Regions from separate parts of the Homo sapiens genome. Here region 2 is linked to region 1. The links are contacts of gene promoters, found by promoter capture Hi-C in blood cells and fetal thymus (Javierre and others, 2016). All regions are on one chromosome and are shown on one strand. The core of a region is centred on a gene start or on the middle of the fragment in contact, and the rest is flanking DNA. Distances in the headings are between cores, read along the strand shown.

Region 1 (3,677 bases), core at 965-3,464:
GTTTTATATGTGTATATATTTCCATGTGCATGTGCACATATAGAAAATAAAAACAATTTCTTGGTGTGATAAACTGCTGAAAAAGTTTAAAATCTACTGTGATAAGCACTCCTTTTTCACTGGCTTCACTGGATTGCTGTCAACACATTTACTTTCCAGTTCTTTATGCCTTTAAGCATACAGCCTTTAAGTATACAGTTCACTCATCTTGGAAGACTTAACCCATCATTTAGCCCAGAGAATTCCTACCTATTCTTTAAAGCTTGTTTGTTCATTCATTCATTCATTCAAGAAAACTTTGTTGGATGTGAACTTGCCAAAGACAATTCTATGGAACCTTCTCCTAAATAACCCCAACTAGAAGTGACTGCTGTCTTCAAAAGCTATTGTAGAAAGCATTTCACATCAACTTATAGAAAGCATTTCACATCAACTTATCTGTTTAATCTCCTCTATTCAGACTAAGTTAACCTCCTTTGAGGTAGAAACCAGAGTCTTAGGAATTTTTTTAATCCTCAGATTGAACCACTTCACACCCTAGGTACTCCTTAGCCATTGTCTAAAAAAAAAAAAATTCACTAAAAATCCAACCACATGTAATTCTACCTATGCAAATTATTCGAAAGGGTAAAATACCAGAAACTCAGAATGTCATTTGATCAACATTTTATAAAGCTAATTAAATCATAAGACAAAAAAATTTTAAAACCAACCAATAGGCAGGGCGCCGTGGCTCACGCCTGTAATCCAAGCACTTTGGGAAGTGGAGGCGGGCAGATTATTTGAGGTCAGGAGTTCGAGACCAGCCTGACCAACACGGTGAAACCACATCTCTACTAAACTACATAAATTAGCCGGCCATGGTGGCGGGGGCCTGCAACCTCAGCTACTCAGGAGGCTGAGGCAAGAGAATCACTTGAACCCAGGAGGCAAAGATTGCAGTGAGCCAAGATCGCGCCACTGCACTCCAGCCTGGGCGACAGAGCAAGACTCCCTCTCAAAAATAAATAAATAAATACCAACCAACAAACTAAATTTCCCTAGTTTTTCATCGACTCTTCATAAAGCTTCCATTCAAAGAAACAAAATGAGTAGGGAAGTTGTAGCTCAAGGTTCTAATTCTAGAAGCGATGCACCAATGACAGTGACATCATTAAAAAGGCCCCTAATGACTGTTAGAGCCGTCTCTAGAAGTTTTCCTGAATGACTTAAACTGATAAAACTTCACATGGACCAACATTCCCAAACATTTCCCTTTAAAATACACTTCCGAAAAATCACACGCACCATCTATTTCTTAGATCTGTAAAGCTCACTCATTTCACCAACTCCTGAAGACCTCTCTAACACAGACTTTTATGACTCTTCCAAATTCACCAAATTTCTTTCCGGTCCTAACTTCAGGGTTGATTCCCTTTTCTCTTCTACAGGAATCACCCCCACCCCAACAATGAAAGGAGATGAAATAAACCAGGAGTTGCAAAGACCAGCGGAGATAGTTACATAGCAGCCTGGAAAAGAGAAAAAAAAAATAAAGAACAAAAAGAGGCGTCTACGGCACCAGACGGTGTGCTCCTTTGTGCACCTATGTTCAGGTATCCCTTGCGCACCAGTCCCACACTTCGCTGGTACACATACCTACTGATAAAAATTAACTGTAAAAGTCAGAAACTCCCACGGTACCTTTCCTTTGGGCTTCTCAAAAATTTTAAGTGATGAACTGCTCTAGAGCTCCGCCCCTTCTTTCCTTACCCTAAAAGTGCAACTTCTGCTCTAGAGAGAAACTTTCTTTTCCCCGAACACCCGTTTTATCCCATCCCCAGGGGAAACGGGGGGAGGGGTTAAGAAAGAGGTCGCCTGGGGGCGCCCAACTCTGCCCTGCCACCCCTGGGCCACAGCCATGCCGGACTTACCCCCAAACAACATAGTTGGTCTTCACATTCTTGGGCCAGGAGAACTCCCCGAAGATCACTTCGTCTCCCTTCACCACAATCTCCTTCTTCTGGATGTTGTACTGTCGCAGGACGCTAAGCACGTCCGCCATCTTCCCCCCCCTCGCCTCCGCCGGCTCGGGGCGCCGCCGCTGCCGCCGCGCCTGCCTCCTTCTTCTCTTGTCGCCTCGCCCTCTTCCTCCTCCTCCTTCGCCGCCGCGACGAACCAACAGCAGCAGCACTAACAGCCGTCCTCGCCTACGACAGCAGCAGGGGCAGTAGCCACCCAGGCCGCCGAGGACCCCGCGCTGTAAGGCAAGGCCCCGCCGCCGGCTGCCCGCGGAGAACGCCTGACTGCGCCCCTCCAGCGAGGCACATCCGCCGCCAGGGGGAGCCGCGACCGCCTGGAAAAGTGCCCCTCCCAGACTTCAGCTGGGCACGGAGCCCACTCACTCGCTGAAACGCTGAGCGCTGGGGCACCGCGCCCACGTACGGCGCACGTACGGGGAACTTTGCCGGGCGCGCGCGCGCGGAGCACGTACCCAGTACCCCGCGGCGCGCACCAAGCGGCGTCAGGTGCGCGCGTACCTGAGCAGTGGGTCAGCACTTCCATCCCCAGCACGTGCACTGAGTATTTAACGAACTGTCTCGGGTGCGACCAGAGGCTCCCCCGGGTCCCTGCTTTGGCCGGGATGGAATTCGGCAAGGATTTGCGGAACACTAGAATTACCTTCCTATTTAGATCGGACCCAGGCCTAGCCAAAGACCTCTAGGACTTAGTGATCCGGAGAAGCCCTTTTGAAAGAGTGGGGCTCTTGGGGTTGGGGTTGGGGTTTTTTGTTTGCTTTTGATGTGGAAAAGAACGAGTTTTGGTTTTTTGTTGGTTTTGAGTGGAAAAGACCGAGTCCAGAAAAAAAAAAAAACAGTTCTGGGCACTGCTCGTCAAGTTACATAGCTTCTCACAGCATCAATTGGTTAATGAAGAAAATGGGGTTAATACGAAGATAAGGTAAACGCGCCTAGCAAGTCAATAAAATATCCTAAATGTTGGATCCTCCCTCTTCATTCTTTGGATGATGACTTTTTCCATCGCGGTCCCTTCTCCCCGCCAATCCCGAAGGGCTATATTCAAAAGGCTGTGTTCCAAGATGTAAATGGGAAAGTTGCCCTAACAGAAACCCCAAACGGTCCAATTTAGAACACTTCCAGACTACCCAATTTTTTAAATGGTACTCAGAAGTCTCAGTGGTGTCCTTGACATGCGTTTTGAGACGGTTAAGATAAGTTCAATATACTATGGCCAACCAAACACATCCTATGGGATTGTTTTTTTTCTTTTACCATGTCAGAAGGAAAAAAGAGGCAACTTTGTGTTTGACATAACCAAATTCCTTGACCTGTTTTGAAAAAAGTCAATCTTTTCACAACGCAGAGGACTACAGATACAGAAGTGTGTGGTTCATTTCCGATATGATCTGTAGCCATTCTGCAACTGTTAGTTTGTGAAATTTTTTTCTGTTCCACCAATGTTTTCACCCCGTAGTATTCTCCTGAATCTCACCCCAAGCACACACATTATAAAGAAATGGCTACAATTACCTATCCCCACATTCTCTATTCATACCTGTGTCAGAGCACTCAGTACCATATTACTTCCCTTTATAGTTTATTTGCCTGCATCCACAAAACTGAAACACCATAGATCTGTGTCCTCATATCCTACTGTCTAACATTATTTGGTACATA
Region 2 (3,560 bases), core at 839-3,338, 1.2 Mb before region 1:
TTTTCTTCCATTTCATAGGTCATCTCTTTACTCTGTTAAAAGTTTCCTTTGCTGTGCAGAAGCTCTTCAGTTTAATTAAGTCCCACTTGTTAATTTTTGTTTTTGTTGCAATTGCTTTTGGAGTCTTTATAACAAAATATTTCCCAGTGCCTATTTCCAGAATGGTATTTCCTAGTTATTTCCAGGTTTTTATAGTTCTGGCTTTTACATTTAAATCTCTAATCCATTTCGAATTGATTTTAGTTTATGATAAAAGGAAAAGGTCCAGTTTCAATCTTTTGCTTATGGCTAGAAAGTTATGCAAGCACTATTTATTGACTAGCGATTCCTTTCCCTGTTGCTTGTTTCTGTCAAATATCAGATGGTTGTAGGTGTGTGGCTTTATTTCTAGGCTCTCCACCATGATCCATTTGTCTATGTGTCTATTTTTGTACCAGTACTATGCTGTTTTGATTACTGTAGCCTTGTTGTATAGCTTGAAGTTGGGTAGTGTGATGCCTCTGGCTTTGTACTGTTTGCATACGATTGCTTTGGCTATTCAGGCTTTTTTTTTTTTTTTTGGTTCCATACGAATTTTAGAATAGTTTCTTCTAATTCTATGAAAACATCATTGGTAGTTTGATAGGAATAGCATTGAATCAGATGGTGGTTATAAATTTTCTCTTTCTATTCAACATTTTAGATACTTTACTATAATGTGTTATGTGTTATTATATACTATAGATTATATGTTTATATTATATATAGATATATAATATCTATATGATATTGATATATATATCATATATAGTTTTTGCGTGTATATATATTTATGGAAGGCCTGACTTTATATATATATATCTATATATATCTCCATAAATCTGTGACTTCATATCAGTAATCAGTTTTTGGAAATCGTTAGCTATTACTTATTCAAATAATTATCCTGTCTAATTTTTTTTCATTTCTAATGGGACTGCATTTGCACATATATTAGACCTATTCATGGTATCTCTGTTCTTTCTGTATTCTCTCTAAATATTTTCATTTGTTTTACTGTTCAGATCTCCAATCTTGTCTTTTGCTGTTTCTCATGTGTTTTTCAGTACAGCCCTTTAATTCTTAATTTTACATATAGCATATTTTCTATTCTTTTAATTTTCTCATAACTCATTTTATAAAGTTCAGTTCTCTGACGAAAAATTCCAATTCATCTTTATTTGGTTGAAAATATTAATTAATCTCATATTATAATTTAGGTCTCAAATCCTCATAACCTATTACTCCTCTGAAACTATTTCTTTGTTTCTTTTCTAATCTTTGTTATTATCATCATGATCACCATAATTAGCACCACCATTTATTTTTGCCCATTGCTATGACATGTAATTTTTTTTTTTTTTTTTTTTTTTTTTTGAGACGGAGTCTCGCCCTTTTGCCCAGGCCCGAGTGCAGTGGCGCTATCTCGGCTCACTGCAAGCTCCGCCTCCTGGGTTCACACCATTCTCCTGCCTCAGCCTCCCAAGTAGCTGGGACTATAGGCGCCTGGCTAATTTTTTGTATTTTTAGTAGAGACGGGGTTTCACCGTGTTAGCCAGGATGGTCTAGATCTCCTGACCTTGTGATCTGCCCGCCTCGGCCTCCCAAAGTGCTGGGATTACAGGGGTGAGCCACCGCGCGTGGCCTATGACATGTAATTTTTTAAATGGAATTGTGCAGAAAAAAAATTAGAAATATTTTAACACATTGGCTTGTCTTTATAGAGTTTTTCTTTCGTTTTTCACAGGTAGTTAAATTTGGGCCATACCACCTTAATCCAATATGAAATTAAGCTTATTTGAAACTGATTACAAATCATTATGAGATCTGGTCTACATCTTACTTGATTTTGTCTTCATGCAACTGGAAGACTAGTGTATTCATAAAAATTGTTCCACCTCTGCAAGCCCTGAACTGTAATCCATACTTCCATAGTCTTGGTAAATTGCTCATAGCTATCTTCAGTTTCCAGACTCTAGAATTCAGTATAGGTTATTGGAAATTACCATAATTCAGTTAGTGATTGAGCTAATACTTGGTGGGATTTCAATGTTTGTGACAGCTAGTCAGTTCCTAAGTTACTGTTTTTTTAAGAGTATATTCCTTCAGGCCTCACAAATAAAAGGCTAAAGTATTTGTGTGCTCCTCCCCGTCAGGCTTACATTCAATTTATTTTATCCCACCTCTGGGAGATTAAAAAAATATATTTGTTCAACTTCTTGAATTCCATACCACCGTATGTGGATTGTCGTATCCCCAGATGGAAGAATCACACATAGGAAATCCACATTCACCTCTTTGCTTCTCCTCTGTCCAGGATCTTGTTCCTACAGGACTTGAAAGCTTTAAAGTGACTAATAAAAAGAAGTTACTCAAATTTTCTAGCCTTTGGTTGGAAGATTTAACTGAGACAAGCTAATATGCTTTTCCTGGAAATATTCTGTGGTTTATATTCAAAGATTCATTCTTTTGTTTCAATTATGCATATTATTTTAAGCATATCATGATCACTGAAAGTCACACCAAAATTCTTTACATCTTTTAATTTTTGTTTTGCAGCACAATTTTTGTATTGTACTATGTAGCACCAAGAAAGTGTATAATTTTCATATGTTAGCCACAGGTGAAAAACAAATTCTGCTTGGAGTGGAAATATTTTATTTTTCCAATTAACTTTTAACCTAACAAACACCATAGTATTAAAAATACGTTCAGTTTTCTTAAGAAGCAAAACCTACACAGCATAATTAACTCATGGGACTTTCTAAAGTTACAAGGCCAGAGTTGGGCATATTTAATGCTATCAATTAATTATCTAGAGAATAGTGGATATCCAGTAACTCACTCCGTGCTTGGTAAACATTGAGAAGCAAGCAACTTATTTGTTATAATGTCATTGGTTATTCTTGAGAATACATTTCCGAATTATATATGAAAGCTAATGGGTAATATGATTATTTAATACAATTTGTTTTATGAAAAACAATTCCTTAACAAAAGTCATAGTAAATGACAGCAAATGAATGAAACATTAACTATTTGTTAATCTCCTTGCTTCCCCTTTGCATGCGTAATTACTATTTATTCTTACAACACTTTGAGGTAGATATCAGGCTTTTATAACCTAAATAACTCACCCAAAATTACAGAGGTAGTAAGTGATACAGATATAACTTAAATATATCTCTTTCTGATTTCAATGATTGTTCTCTGAATAGAATTTTTCTTCCTGATTCGTCTTGTTACTTCATAAGTTTACAATTCATTCTCAAAGAGATACAGCAGCTTGTTGCCTGTTTATTACTAATATTGAATGAGCTGAAATACAATAATATGGATCAATGTAAGAAATCAAGAAATGTGTTTATTTTTAAATGCCTTTACATGCCTTTTCTTTTAACTCTAAAATCTTCATATTTTCATCTTTTCCAATAATTTACTTAAATGTTTATAAATACTAAACCAAGAAAAATTTGTTTAAAGAATTTAGTTGTTTTGGTCCATTACTCAGTTTTCCACATTAGTCCCAATAGTGGGAGATG

What was found. Contacts are between HindIII fragments. The CHiCAGO score rates a contact against its expected background, and 5 or more counts as called.
Region 2: a contact is called between a fragment that was not itself captured here and the fragment with the promoter of CDC73 in region 1, in 5 of 17 cell types (naive B cells, naive CD4 T cells, fetal thymus and 2 more). The highest score is 10.4, in naive B cells.

What each region holds. Positions count from the first base shown.
Region 1 is chr1:193,120,568-193,124,244 of GRCh38, reverse strand. It overlaps CDC73 (cell division cycle 73), which reads right to left and starts at 2,214. Exons shown (of 17, transcript NM_024529.5): 1 at 1,914-2,214. The coding sequence starts at 2,044. RefSeq lists enhancers at 1,777-1,826, 1,426-2,070, 2,097-2,166, 2,071-2,717 and a silencer at 2,327-2,406. The HindIII fragment of the contact is 13,310 bases long and covers 1,070-3,677 here.
Region 2 is chr1:194,274,307-194,277,866 of GRCh38, reverse strand. All of the region lies in intron 2 of LOC107985242 (a long non-coding RNA gene), which reads left to right. Among named protein-coding and RNA genes, the nearest start is that of LINC01031, 970 kb to the right of the region's middle. The HindIII fragment of the contact is 550 bases long and covers 1,814-2,363 here.